Linked DNA regions of Homo sapiens: regions 1, 2, 4 and 5 are each linked to region 3. Evidence: promoter capture Hi-C in 16 types of primary human blood cells and fetal thymus (Javierre and others, 2016). All regions are on one chromosome and are shown on one strand. Each heading gives the region's core, a stretch centred on a gene start or on the middle of the fragment in contact. The rest is flanking DNA. Distances are from core to core; before and after follow the strand shown.

Evidence for each region. Contacts are between HindIII fragments. The CHiCAGO score rates a contact against its expected background, and 5 or more counts as called.
Region 1: a fragment that was not itself captured here is called in contact with the fragment with the promoter of PRSS35 in region 3 in 1 of 17 cell types (M1 macrophages); the score reaches 5.1 in M1 macrophages.
Region 2: a contact is called between a fragment that was not itself captured here and the fragment with the promoter of PRSS35 in region 3, in 2 of 17 cell types (megakaryocytes and M1 macrophages). The highest score is 7.9, in megakaryocytes.
Region 4: a fragment that was not itself captured here is called in contact with the fragment with the promoter of PRSS35 in region 3 in 1 of 17 cell types (megakaryocytes); the score reaches 5.6 in megakaryocytes.
Region 5: a fragment that was not itself captured here is called in contact with the fragment with the promoter of PRSS35 in region 3 in 3 of 17 cell types (M2 macrophages, megakaryocytes and M1 macrophages); the score reaches 7.9 in M2 macrophages.

What each region holds. Positions count from the first base shown.
Region 1 is chr6:83,380,387-83,383,086 of GRCh38, reverse strand. All of the region lies in intron 3 of ME1 (malic enzyme 1), which reads left to right. Among named protein-coding and RNA genes, the nearest start is that of ME1, 49 kb to the left of the region's middle. The HindIII fragment of the contact is 419 bases long and covers 1,193-1,611 here.
Region 2 is chr6:83,276,824-83,279,523 of GRCh38, reverse strand. The region is part of intron 6 of ME1 (malic enzyme 1); the gene reads left to right. Among named protein-coding and RNA genes, the nearest start is that of RWDD2A, 85 kb to the right of the region's middle. The HindIII fragment of the contact is 271 bases long and covers 1,297-1,567 here.
Region 3 is chr6:83,511,131-83,513,830 of GRCh38, reverse strand. PRSS35 (serine protease 35) reads right to left here and starts at 1,297. Exons shown (of 2, transcript NM_153362.3): 1 at 1,137-1,297. The HindIII fragment of the contact is 1,326 bases long and covers 679-2,004 here.
Region 4 is chr6:83,259,049-83,261,748 of GRCh38, reverse strand. All of the region lies in intron 6 of ME1 (malic enzyme 1), which reads left to right. Among named protein-coding and RNA genes, the nearest start is that of RWDD2A, 67 kb to the right of the region's middle. The HindIII fragment of the contact is 2,210 bases long and covers 300-2,509 here.
Region 5 is chr6:83,303,566-83,306,265 of GRCh38, reverse strand. The region is part of intron 6 of ME1 (malic enzyme 1); the gene reads left to right. Among named protein-coding and RNA genes, the nearest start is that of RWDD2A, 110 kb to the right of the region's middle. The HindIII fragment of the contact is 2,733 bases long and covers 32-2,700 here.

The DNA of each region.
Region 1 (2,700 bases), core at 153-2,652, 130 kb after region 3:
GCTCGCAAGTCTAAAATCTGCAGTTTGAGTCTGAAGACAGTCTGCTGGCAGAATTTCCTCTTTTTCGGGGGAGGTCAGTCTTTTTTAATAAGATTTCAGCTGACTGGATGAGGCCCATACACATTGTGGAAGGTAATCTGTTTTATTCAGAATCTACTGATTTAAATATTAGTATCATCTAAAAACTACCTTCATGGAAACATTTAGAATGTTTGACCAAACATCTGGGTACTATGCCTAGCTAGGTTGACACATGAAAATAGCCAATACATATTCCTAGACCAATCTTGAGTCTTCTTATCTTAGATTGATTATGTTTTCCAACTCTACTCTGAGTTGCTCAGAGAAGCAGCACTCTTATCATGTAGCTCCTTGGACCTTTCCCTATTGATTAATATGTGTTCTGATTTTCAAAAGGTAAAATGATGTATTATGTTTGTTAATTAAGATTATTTTCTCAAATACTGGAGTGTTTACTTGTGAAGAGTTTCATATATTGCTTTTCAGAGGAGCTTAATTCTAGCAGATATTTCTTAGGAATATTGCTCTACTATGGTTTCACTTTTAAAAGTTCCTAATACTGACTGGATTAATTATAGTAATTTAACATTTAAACCTAATTTTAGAAATTGTCAGATAATATTATTGACCATTCAATTCTTCCGGAAGATTCTTGCTTTTTCTTCCCAACCTTGCCATTTCTTTACAGTCTTTTAAATTATTGACTATGCTTATTATTTCCCTTCTCCTTCCTTCCTTTACCAGAAATTTATTGAGCGTCCACTGCATGCCAGGCACTTTACCAAGCATTGAGAATAGGTAAATAAAGACTTAATTTCTGCATTTGTGGAATTTACAGGTAATATTCAAGTGAACAAAGAAATACATGAGTACTGTTTGTGTTATGAAGGAAATGAACAGAGGACAATGATAAACAATAACAGGGGATTTCCTTTCACAGTATAGTTAGGGAAGTGCCTGTAAGGAGATAGTTTAGGCTGCCGCTTGAAGGATAAGGAAGCAGCTTGTGAAAATCAGGGAAAAAAAAAAGGAAAAAATAAAAACCTTTGAGCCTGAGGGGATAGCTTGTTCAAAAGATCTGGGACTGGGGAGGTGGCATGAGATGAAGTTTGAGGTAGACAGCAGTCTCATGCAGGGTGTGTGGGTCATGATAGAGTTTCATTATAAAGCTTAATCCATTTAAAAAGCCATTGAATATTCAAAGTAGACAGCATCTAACTAAAGTTTTAAAAGATTACTCTGGCTGCCATGTGGATAAAATATTAGAAATGAGAGCTAGAATGGAATGGAAAGGGCACTAAGAAGACTTGCAGTATTGGATCCCTTTCCAATTCTTAATTGCTTTGAATGCACTTGATCCTCTTAAGATATGGAGCAAGGAAATCAAGAAAAGCTGTAAGCTAACAGAGTTGCCAATAGCAGCAACCAGTTCACATGGGAATAATTCCACAGTCTTGTAGTCCTGTACTGATGGCTATAGGTAGGTGAGGTGATAGGGATATGGACACACAGCATGTAGGTATATACACAGACTCTAAATACATCAGCTGGAGATAAGAAGGTCTCCTGTACATAAGACTTTCTCAAGCTTGCAGTAAGCTGAGATTGCACCACTGCACTCCAGCCTGGGCAACAGAGCGAGACTCCGTCTCAAAAAAAAAAAAAAAGAATTTCTTAAGCTTGCAGGCTTAATATAGTTCATTTTATTTATAGCCCAAGTCAATCACCTCACTATCTTGTCCTTTACTCACTGTACAAATCCATCCTGAACCAATCCTTTCTTGCCCTCCCAGAAGAGCCAATTAGATCATGTTCTATGAAGCCAGTAAGTATTGTTCATTTCATTTCTGTGCACCTATTTTTTAATTAAAATATTATTAATGTGGGGGTGGAGTGCTATAATTCTGCCTGCACAGTTCAATTTCGGCTGGGCCTTCTGCTCCTCAGTGTTTCATTCCAGCTGTGTTTTTGGCTCATCTCACTCTTGCAGTTACAAGAATGTAAACACTCTGCAGCCTTATCCTCCTTATCTCAGATATTTCTCTCCATGTTCCCCATGAATTCATTGGTTCAGCTTTTTATTTCCATGAACTATATCTAATACATTTCCTTTCTTCAATTATTTCCTTCTTAATCTGTTCAGCTAACTGCAGTGATCCATTCCACCCACTAAAATGTTGGTTCTTGCCAAGGTTTTATTCTGGGTTCTATTTTCTTTTTATTCTATATATTCTCTTAGTCACATGTAATTGGAGAATTTCCAAGTCAATATTTGTAGCCTAGATTTCTTTTCCTAAGATTATTACTCGTATTTTCAACTACTAAGTAGCTCATCTTAATATGGCAAACAACTACTTCCACTTACCCACTCCCCAGCCTAACATCCCAGGCTCCCAGGTTTTCTAACATTGTAAGGTGCAACATCATTCATTCAGTTACTAAAGCAAACACCTCAGAGATAATCAGGATTTTTTCCCCTTCCTTTCCCTTTTTGAGCATTAGAAATTGTATCCCTTAATTATCTATTGAGTCTCTTTTGTCCTTTCAATCCCCATTGCCACTTTTTTTTAGCTAGGTTCTTCTTGTTTCTTTCCTGGACTACTACTGCATATTTACCCTTGAAGACTGTCAAAAGGGAGTGGATTTTCAAAAAGATATATCTAATTATGTCATTCTCCT
Region 2 (2,700 bases), core at 183-2,682, 230 kb after region 3:
ACTGATGAGCCCATCAAAGCCAGTCTTTATTTCTGGTACTGTTACTTTGACTTCTATCATTACCTTTCGATTCTTAGAGTTTCTATTGCTCTGCTTAGATCACTTAGCATATTAATCATAGTTATTTCAAATTCCCAGTCTGTTTATTCCAAAATTTCCACTATATCTGAATCTCATTCTGATGCTTGCTTTGTGTTTTCCGACTATATTTCTTGCCTTTTAGGATGCCTTGTAATTTTGTTGACAATTAGACCTGCTATATGGGGTAAAAGGAACTTAGGGAGATATGCCTTTAATATGCTGGGTTTTGTTTATCTGGCTAGGAGTTAAGCTGTGTTTGATGTTTGCTGTAGCTGTAGTATTAGAGGCTAAAAGTTCTTCAGTGTCATTGTTTTTGTCTAACCTCTTGTCTTTGGATTTTTCCAGCGTCTCCTTAAATAGACTTTGAGGCTAGAATTTGTTTTAGCTGTAATCTGCTGTTATTATACCAGAGCCCTGTTGGGGCAGTGATAGGGTTGGGGGGGAAGGGGTTGTTTACTATAGTCCTATGATTGGCTGTCAGTTTTTTAGTGAGCCTGAGTTTTGAGTATTTTCTTTCCTCCATTTGAAAGCCCAGGGAGGACTGTAGTTGGATATTTCCCTTCCCCCAGTTTAGGTAGGCTTTGGTGAACCCCATTAAGTTAGGATCTGGTAAAATAGTTTCTCTTGAGGGTAAGTCCTATTAAGAAGAACAGAATGCTCTGGCATTTTAAAAAATGATAAATAGGCTTGGCATAGTGGCTCATGCCTGTAATTCTGGTGCTTTTGGAGGCTGAGGTGGGAGGATTGCCTGAGCCCAGGAGTTCAAGACCAGCCTGGGCAATGTAGGAGGACCCTCATATCTACAAGAAATTAAAAAAAAAAAGACTCTAGTCAGGCACCAGGCGTGGTGGCAAGCATCCATAATCACAGTTAGTTGAGAGGCTGAGACAGGAGGATCACTTGAGCCCAGGAGTTCTAGGTTACAGTGAGCTATGACTGTGCCCCTGCACTCTAGCCTGGGCGACAGAGCAAGAGCTCCTCTCTAAAAATAAAATAAACAATCAAATTTTTTAAATGGTTACTATTCTCTCCCCGCTTGCTGGAAGCACAAGGGGGACTTTTCCTCAAATCTTCAGTCAAAACCTAATGAAGCTCCTGGAGATAAAACTTATGAAAGTGTGGAGGCCCCCATAAGACTGGACCTCCTAGTAGTTTTTAATTTGCAAGTTAGTATACACTGAGTCTCCAGCAATTCATTAATTACAGTTTAAAGCTTTGCTGCTGATACTGGCTCTTGCTGCACGGTTCTGCTCCTGGGCTTCTACTCAAAGCCATGATTCTCTGTATTTGCCTGTCTTTCTAGTTTTGGGGGCAACCTAATGCATCATGATGGATTGAGTTGTTAACGTGTAGTTTGTTCAGCATTTTTCTTGTGAGATGGGAGTAACAGTTTCCAAGCTCTTTACATGTAAGAACCAGAAACTCTGACCCTAGATTCAGAATTCTAGGGTTCAAATGGCAGGAGGTCCAAGAAGATAAGCAAGCTTTCTGGCACACTGTGTTGAATTCCAAATATTATTATTATTATTATTATTATTATTTTGAGATACAGTCTCACTATCGCCCAAGCTGGAGTGCAATGGTGCGATCTCAGCTCACTGCAACCTCTACCTCCCAGGTTCAAGCGATTCTCCTGCCTCAGCCTCCCGTGTAGCTGCGATTACAGCCATGTGCCACCACGCTAGGATAATTTTTGTATTTTTGGTAGTGACGGGGTTTCACCATGTTGGCCAGGCTGGCCTCGAACTCCTGACCTCAAGTGATCTGCCTGCCTCAGCCTCCCAAAGTGCTGGGATTACAGGCGTAAACCACCACACCTGGCCCCAAATCTTATTTTTGTTCTTAGTTTTAGTTTGATAATCTAAGATATAGATTAGAATGTACTGTATGAATCCTTTCCCCATGTTTTGTTACCTTAAATAATATGGTATTCTAACTATTCTGCCATAATCCTGAGTCTCGTCTTCCTTGGCCTGTGGCTGTCCATGACACAGAGCCAACATACTTGTAGTGGACATTGGTTTTCAGTTGTGTTTTCTGCTAATGTAGAGTTACTGGTTAGTTCTAATTAAACTGGGGGTGCTGAGGCTAGGCCTGCTGAGGAATTTATACCCAGATTCAAAAGGCATTGAGTTTCATGTTATAAAAGAAGTTGTGTAGTTAAGGAGTCAGCATTACACAACTTATAGACAGTGAATATGAGAATGTAAATATTCTCTTTATAAAAGACAATATAATGGATATGTAAGTACCCAGGCTTGTTTTGTTTGGTTCACAAAATATATTAAAAGTTTTATTTAAGAGAATGTTTATTGCTGTTTTTTCTTCTAAAGAAATGCCATCTTATACATTCATCAATTGTTAAATATTTCTTTGAGGTGGGATGCAGTTTACTTCAATACAGATGGCTGTCTGTCTTAAGACAATATGCTAAAATTCAGTTTTAAAATCTTAACCACTTAACAGTTTATTGCAGAGCTAGGGAACTGTAGTGTAGCATATAAGTTATTTGTCTCTTTCTTATAACAATTTGTTATCAGTGACAGAACTTTTTGTAAGTAAATCAGTGATAATTCTAAGTGACCAGGGAAGCTGAAACTGTGATTATTAGGTTATCTT
Region 3 (2,700 bases), core at 48-2,547:
TAATGAACACATACTGTATGCCAAGTATATGCTAAACAGTCTCACATTTTAAAACGTGAAAAAGCTTCTTAAAAGCATGCAGTTTTCCCAGCTATCTGGAAGAAAAATGGGGTACAGTATCCACATCTACCACTTCCCTCACTAAAGGAACTCCTCTAATATTTCCTAATAAAAATAAAATTCCATATGATACTTGGCCTCTACCTTCAAGCCTACATGTCTTATTTGGCAGGGATTTTAACATTCTCTCTTCTAAATTATAAACCAGATTCTAAGTATAATTCTCCAGCCAGCAAAATATGACTTTTATAATCCTCTGTGGAGACAAATGTACTTCGGATAAAATAAGAATGAATTTCAGAAGTCAGAAGGGTTAATAAGGGGTGAAAGCCCCCTAGACACAGCAAGCAGCTTCTTTTCAAATCAAGGACAGTGTAAAAATGTCAGAGCAATCAAGCGGGAGTGTTTCTACAACTTTTTAAAAAACCTTTTATTATAGAAAATTTCAAGACTACACAAAAGCACAGAGAAAAGTATTAAGTTGAGAGAAAAGTACAACCCCCATGTGCACATCACCAGCTTCAACTATTGTCAATATTTTGCCAATGTTTCATCCACCATCACCACCCCACACACTTTTTTTTTTCAGCTAGAGTATTTCAAAGCAAGTCAAAAGCTTTTCTACTTCATTTCGCCGCCTCATTTTCTAAACGTTTTCCTATGCTCCTTTTGCTGACCTCCGCAGCCAAGTTGATAAAAGGGTAGAGGGGAGAGGCTAGCTTTCATAGTAACCCCGCCAAAGAGACTTTTCAGGAATGCGTTTCATACCTTTCTCAATGGCATCTGTTAACAATCATAAAAATAAAGAGGGTCCCCTCTGGTACTGCTTAAGCAGAAAGAATTCCATTTATATTCCAATGCAAACATTGTTGTCGTTAATATTAAACTGTGCAGAGGCCGGCACACAGAATTGCCTATGGGAAGGGTGGTTAGTTTCTTTGAGGACTGAAAGAAAGTGTCAAGTTTGATCCCTTTCTTCAAAGTCCTTCAAAGAAGCTCTCCTCGGGTAGGTCCTGCCTTTCTCAGGGAAATTTCTAAGTTCTAAGGTTGTTGGGTTTGGGGAGCTTCATCTTTACCTGCCAGGCTTGTTTGGTCCCCGAGGGCACTGTCAGCTGAGATCAGAGCTCCCGAGGAGGCGGGCGGGGACGCTGCAGCTGGGAGCCTCTCAGCCAGCCTGAGCCGGAGGCCGCCCCGCCAAGGCCGGGCCACAGCACCCAGAGCTCGCCACTGAGACTGCGGAGGGGGAGAGAGCTGCGCCGCACCACGGCCGGGAGATGGGAGGGGAAAGGGGGCGATGACGAGGGGCGGGCGCGGTGGGATGGAGTGGGGGGAGGGGAGGAGGAGGAGGTGGGCAAGAGGAGACGGAGAGGGAGGGCGGAGAGGGGAGTTCCCTGGAGGAACGGGGCGGACCTGGCCGTGTCTCACCCCAGCATTTCTGCCCCCAAGCTGAATTAAGCATTAGGAAAAATTCATGAGTAGGTTCACAGGGGATGCCTGTCCCTGTAATAGTATGCACTCCTTTAACAGTCTCAGGAGTTGTTCAGTTAAGAGTCTCATTCCTCACTGCTTGCTGTTGAGACCCCAGGCATCTAGAAGAACGGAGGGCGTCTCCCCAACCTTATCCCAAGCTAGTCTCCACCGGGGACCTAGCTTCTCTGGATGCACAAGCCTCAGGGTTACCCCGACTTGTACCAGGCGCCCAGGCTGCACACGAGGATGGGGACCTCAGGCTGGGACGCCTGGACCCCCGGGAGCATCCTGCGCTGCCTCCAGGGGGAGCGCGTCAGTTTCCGTCTGCAGGGAAAAGGCTGGTTTTCCTCTTTGGGCGAGTAACCTTTAAGGTCCTTTCCCATCTCAGTCCCACCAGCATTCTAACCTCATCCGTTCTCTCGACCTTTTATTCTCCTTTAGGAGAGGGGTGGGGGCCACATGAGAAAGGAAGCTTCATTTGTTTAACAACAAATTCTAGTGGGTGACAGGTCTGGGGCAAGATGAACTGATACAACGAGAGAATACATAAACAAAAACAAAAACAAAAACAAAAAAACTCGGTCCTGGCCCTAAAGCAGGGAGATCGAGTAAGTGCACAAGTACTTACAACACAAGGTCTTAGCATGTCTTGTAACACTTGGTTCGTTAGTAGGTTATTGCGTATCTCAAGTTCTGTGTACTTTTAATGAGATTATAACATACTTAGCATTGTCCCTCGTTATACTCAACGGACTAGTTCCAGGCCCTCTTCCCCTCCGCCCCCCCATACTAAAATCATCCCATATTCAAGTCCAAGTCCAGCTGTGGGCCCTGGGGAACCCGCGTATAGGAAAAGTCTGCCCTCTGTTTAAGCATTTCTGCCTGAAAATACTGTTTTCTATCCGCTTTTGGGTGAAAAAAAAAATCTGTGTATAAGTGGACCTGTGCAGTTCAAATATGTGTCCAAGGGCCAACTATATATACAATTTCATTGCTGTTTTCTCATTTAGCATTGTTAACATAAGCATTTACCCATATATTAAAATCTATTGGTAATTTTTACCAGTTAGAATTAGTTCTGAAGCTCTCTGTCACCAATTAGATCATAATAGTCATATGCATCTTTGAATCACCACCATCTACCACAGGGCCTGGCATATAGTAGCTGCT
Region 4 (2,700 bases), core at 155-2,654, 250 kb after region 3:
AGCCACCGCGCCCGGCCTATGCTTTTTCATACTTCACGTTTTGTGCTTCATCTTCCCTAAACCAGACTCCCAACACTTCTTCTTCTCAGATCTTTCCACTGTTTAACTGGAAACCCGCACTTTAACAACAGGCTACCTTACCTCCTCACTTCCTCACTGGATGTTCCCTTTACCTCCTTGCTTTACTGAGAAATGGCTCTCTGAACATAGGAACAGGCAAAGATTTCATGACAAAGATGGCAAAAACAATCACAACAAAAGCAAAAATGTACAAATGGGATCTAATTAAACTAAAAGCTTTTCCACAGCAAAAAAAAAAAAAAAAAAATTACCAACAGAGTAAACAAAGAACCTACAGAATGGGAGAAAATATTTGCAAACTATGGATTTGACAAAGTTCTAGTATCCAGAATTTTAAGGAACTTAAATCTACAAGAAAAAACAACCCCATTAAAAAGTAGGCAAAGAACATGAAGAGACACTTTTCAAAAGAACATGCATACGGCCAATAAGCATATGAAAAAAAGCTCAATATCACTGATCATTAGAGAAATGCAAATCTAAACCATAATGAGATACCATGTCATACCAGTCAGAATGGCTATTATTAAAAAGTCAAAAAATAACAGATCCTGGCAAGGGTGCAGAGCAAAGGAAATGCTTATACATAGCTGGTGGGAGTGTAAATTAGTTCAGCCATTGTGGAAGCAGTATGGAGATTCCTCAAAGAAATAAAAGCAGAAGTACCATTTGACCCAGCAATCCCATTAGTGGATATATACCCAAAAGAATATAAATTATTTTACCACAAAGATGCATGCACACATTTTTTTTGTTTATTGGAGCACTACTCACAATAGCAAAGACATGGAATCAACCTAAATGCCCATCAGTGATACACTGGATAAAGAAAATGTGGTACTGATACACCATGGAATATTATGCAGCCATAAAAAAGAGTGAGATCACATCCTTTGCAGGAACATGGATGGAGCTGGAGAGCTGGAGGCCATTATCCCTAGCAAACTAATGCAAGAACAGAAAACCAAGTACTGTGTGTTCTCACTTATAAGTGGGAGTTAAAATGATGAGAACACTTGAACACAAAGAGGGGCACAACAGACACTGGGGCCTAGTGTCCATGTGTTCTCATCACCACCCCAGAGGGTGGAGGATCAGAAGAGGAAGAGGAGCAGAACAAGTAACTATTGTGTACCAGGCTTAGCATCTAGGTGATAAAATAATCTGTACAACAAACCCCCATAACATGAATTTACCTATAGAACTACCTTGTATATGTACCCCTGAACCTAAAATAAAAGTTTAAAAACAACAACAAAATAATAAAATTAAAATCACAAGGGAAAAAGTTTCATGAATTTTGGAGACAAGGAGGATTTTTTAAATGCTTTTTATTAAAATATACTAAATAGCCACTTTAGTTATAAACCGAACTTCAAAATTTGTTGAATTTTAAGGAACTCAGAATCTCTTAGGTTTGCTATTTTTTTTGAAAAGCAGACAACACCTAAACATAGTGATTCTATTTTGCTTGTGATTCTTTTTTTTTTTGGTCCTTGCTATAAATGTTGTGTGATTTTTTGATTCTATAGATGCTTTTAGAGAAATAAATACTAAATAAAAATGGTTGGAAATACTGTTTTAATTATTTATCTCTCATTCTAAAAGAAAAAAGATTCATAGTATAAAATTTCTTCAAGTCCTTGGTATCATTTTGGAAACAGAGTTGTTTCTTTGAAAGATCAGCAGCAGAGATATAAATTTAGAAGTAATTTGTGTAAAACATGATTGTCAATTCCTTAAGAAGACAAGAAACTTGAGGGGATGAGAATATGGGGGAAAAGAATGGATGATTATGGCTGAATCTTCATCATTTCTACTGTCACAAAGAATAATTAAGAGGTAACAGTAAAATATAATAAAAGGAGTGGTAAGAGAAATGAAAGGACTGTCTAAATGTTACAAAATAATATGGAAGTAAAGTAGTAGGAGCAAAAGCCATATTGCTATGAAAGAAGTTAACACATCCATCTTCTTCGTTGTTACCTACAAAGAAGAATTGAATTTGAATGGTTCTTGGCCAGAGATAATTTGTGTCAACTTCGGATTACTTATTCTAGCATTCAAGACCATTCATCATCTGAAATTCAGCAACCAATACTGATCTTCTAAAGTCCTTGAAGCTAATATTTGTCATCTCCCCAGTACAAACTTTGAGACCTCTATTCTATCATTGGTTCTTTACTCCACTCTTTTCCTTATTTGAGTTCTACCAAGGGCCCATCTTAAGTCTCACCTAATTCATGTTGTTTTCCCTCAGTCCTTTAGTGATCAGTGTGCCACTGCTTTTGCTTTTAATCTGAACCTCCTTTAAGTTATTTGCTTACATCCTTTTGTCTTCCCAATGAGACTATTTTCCCAGTGAGCATTTCCAGGGCAAGATCCATGTTTCTTATTTGCTGCTTAATTCATTGAGCACTCTCAAGCTTCAATACATTATAAAAAATGGGTAATTTGGAATAAGTTATCCCTAAGGTACTCATCAGAGCTAAAGTGCACTAGATCTTGAATGTTCCATATGTAATAAATCCTATAAAAACATTTTACTATATCTCAGGAAAAATTAAAACATGCTTGGTTAACCTGGTTACAGTGAATTCTTGATCAGTTATAATCAAA
Region 5 (2,700 bases), core at 149-2,648, 210 kb after region 3:
TAGCAAGATTAAGCCCAGTTTCTTAAAAGCTTGTGTTTCTTATTGTTTTCCATCTATAGTCCCACATATAATAAATTAGAAAATAAGAATGATACATCCGCTCATTGGTAACATAAAAAAAGAAGATTCAATATGATTTCCTGAGTTATAGATCAACCTAAAAACAAAACAAAAAACACTATCAATAGCAATATCTTGTAGGTTAAAATAAGGTCTTTTGTTTATAATATTTTTTCTTGCCATCCTTAATTTACGTGTGTTTATAGACAAAGGTAAAGCAGGTATGAACATGTGAAAGCAATTTACTTTTCCTTTTGAAAGACCATCTATGTGGCTGGTTTGGGGAAATCTTATAACAATATTAGAATGAAGTACATATATTTTAATTATTAGAGATTAAAGATGCGGAAAGGAAAAGAATAATTAAAGAGGCAAACTTAGAAAATTGATTTGGGGGTAAGGTCAGAAATTAAGGGTACTTTTTTGGTTCTGTAGGAAATTGAAACCCTAATTGCAACTAATATCGTATCTGGACCTAACATTAGTATTGACAGTCAGTGCATTTCAGTTAATGAAAGCCAAAGTCCTTATAATGGCCCTCAAGCCCTGATGTGGCCCCCTTCCTGACCTCTATGATGTGCTCACTCTCCTGCACCCACATTCTCCACGCTGCCTGTACTGTCATTGAACTCTCAAGGCATGTTCCTTAGAATATTTTCACTTGCTTTTCCCTCTGTCTAAAATATTCTTCTCCCAGAAATGTGTTTGGTTAAAAACTTAATCTTTTTCATATATTAGCTCAAATCTTAACCTTCTTTTGAGGTTTACCCTGACTACCCTATGTAATACTGAAACCTGTCCCATCTTCTCCCCACCCTGGCTCTCCTGATCACCCTTGTTTTGCTCTACTTTTCCTTTTTTAAAATACCACTTATTACCATTATTCATTTATTATGTTTATGCTTATTGTGTGTTTCTTCCACTAGAAGATATGCTGTCAAGGACAGGGATCTACTTTGTTCATTTTATGAACAAGTTCCTTCCTGTATCAATGCTTGGCACAGAGTAGATAAACAATAAATATTTGTTGAACTCAATTGAGATACTTAAAGGGAGGCCACACAAGACAATGTGAGTGGTTTTGCAGAAATCTTTCACCATTACTAGAAAATTATTTCATTTAAACATGTCTTATTTTTATTGAATTACTAGCATCATTTTTATATGGAAAGGAGAGCCATCAGCACATGGTAAGTAATGAATACCCGATTGTCTCAGGTCCCAGAAGCAGATTATCCCTCAAGGAATTAGAGGTTAGTTCTAAAGTTAGCATGTTACATAGAGTAATCTAACGACATTTAATGCAAGTTGGTAGTAAATATTGTTTGAGCTGACATATGTCAAAGTCTCATTATTTAAAGCTACAACAAAATTTGTATAAAATTTGCCATAATCAAAATGTAAGAACAAAATAATCATTCCTGTTGCCAAGATGATCACATTCTGGCTAACTCAATTTTCCATGATTTGACTGTTACTTTTATTTCACTAACTATAAAGCAAGCCAGAATTAACACAGTGTGCCATGTTTTTTATTTTACCAATATGTAGTGATTAATTCTCAAGAGTGTTTTTCTTTGTGGTATCCACAGATGGTGACCCACTTTTTTCATATCCTCATGAAAATAATATCATATTCTGTATATACATGGTAAAAATGCCACATTTGTGAATAGAAAACAAAATAAGCTATTGTTAAAGTTTTGTTGACCAATATTGTTAGATTGAGATGTGTCGAAATTTAGATGGAAAGAAAGGCTCATCCTACTGAGCACAGGTTGGAATGGTGCTGCCTGGGACAGGTTTGCAGTCCATTTCTTCAGAGGTGTCATAGAATGACATTTCTTAATTCAGTTAATTTACCATGGTTTGGAGCCTGACTCTCAGCTCAGGAAGTTTAGAAATCTAATTTTGACAGCTTGCAAAGCTCATATCTCAGGTACATGTGATAAGTAAAACTTGCACTTTGGAGTCAATCCTCAGCTCCACCAACTACTACATTTGTAACCTTGGAAAAATTACTTACCTTCCTCAAGGCTTAATTTTCTTGCCTGTAAATTGGGGTAAAATGCTAATAGTACCTTCAGTAGTACCTTCAGACAGTTGTTATGATGATTGAGAGAAAACATATAAAACAAATTACTTTTATCAAGTGCTATAAATAGTAACTATAATTTTTATTTTTCAGGAAGGATTACTAGGACCATAATTTAGTTAAAAGATGTAGGCTGGCAAATTTGGCTTAATATTAAATAGAGCATTTAATAGTTGGAATTGTCCCCAAAGAAAATAATGTATATAAAAGTACTTGCACATAAAAATTACTCAGAGGTTGTTATTCCTTATTGTTTCTGTTGTTAATATTATTTGTGAACTCTCCATCACTCTGAGAACATGGACAGATGTGCTTAAAGATATAAAGATTTCTACTTTTATGTGAGATGATGGATTAGAATTAAATGTTTCTAAAGTGTTCCAACTTTAGGATTCTATGAAAGTGGTAAAAAAAAAATCGTATTTTGTTTCAACATTCAGGACTGGTTGTTTCATAAAATTCAGTGATTCAGCCATGCTTGTGATCATTATGAGTCAGTTGAAATTGATCATCACAATATATTTGACCCAGAGGAATAAACTTCT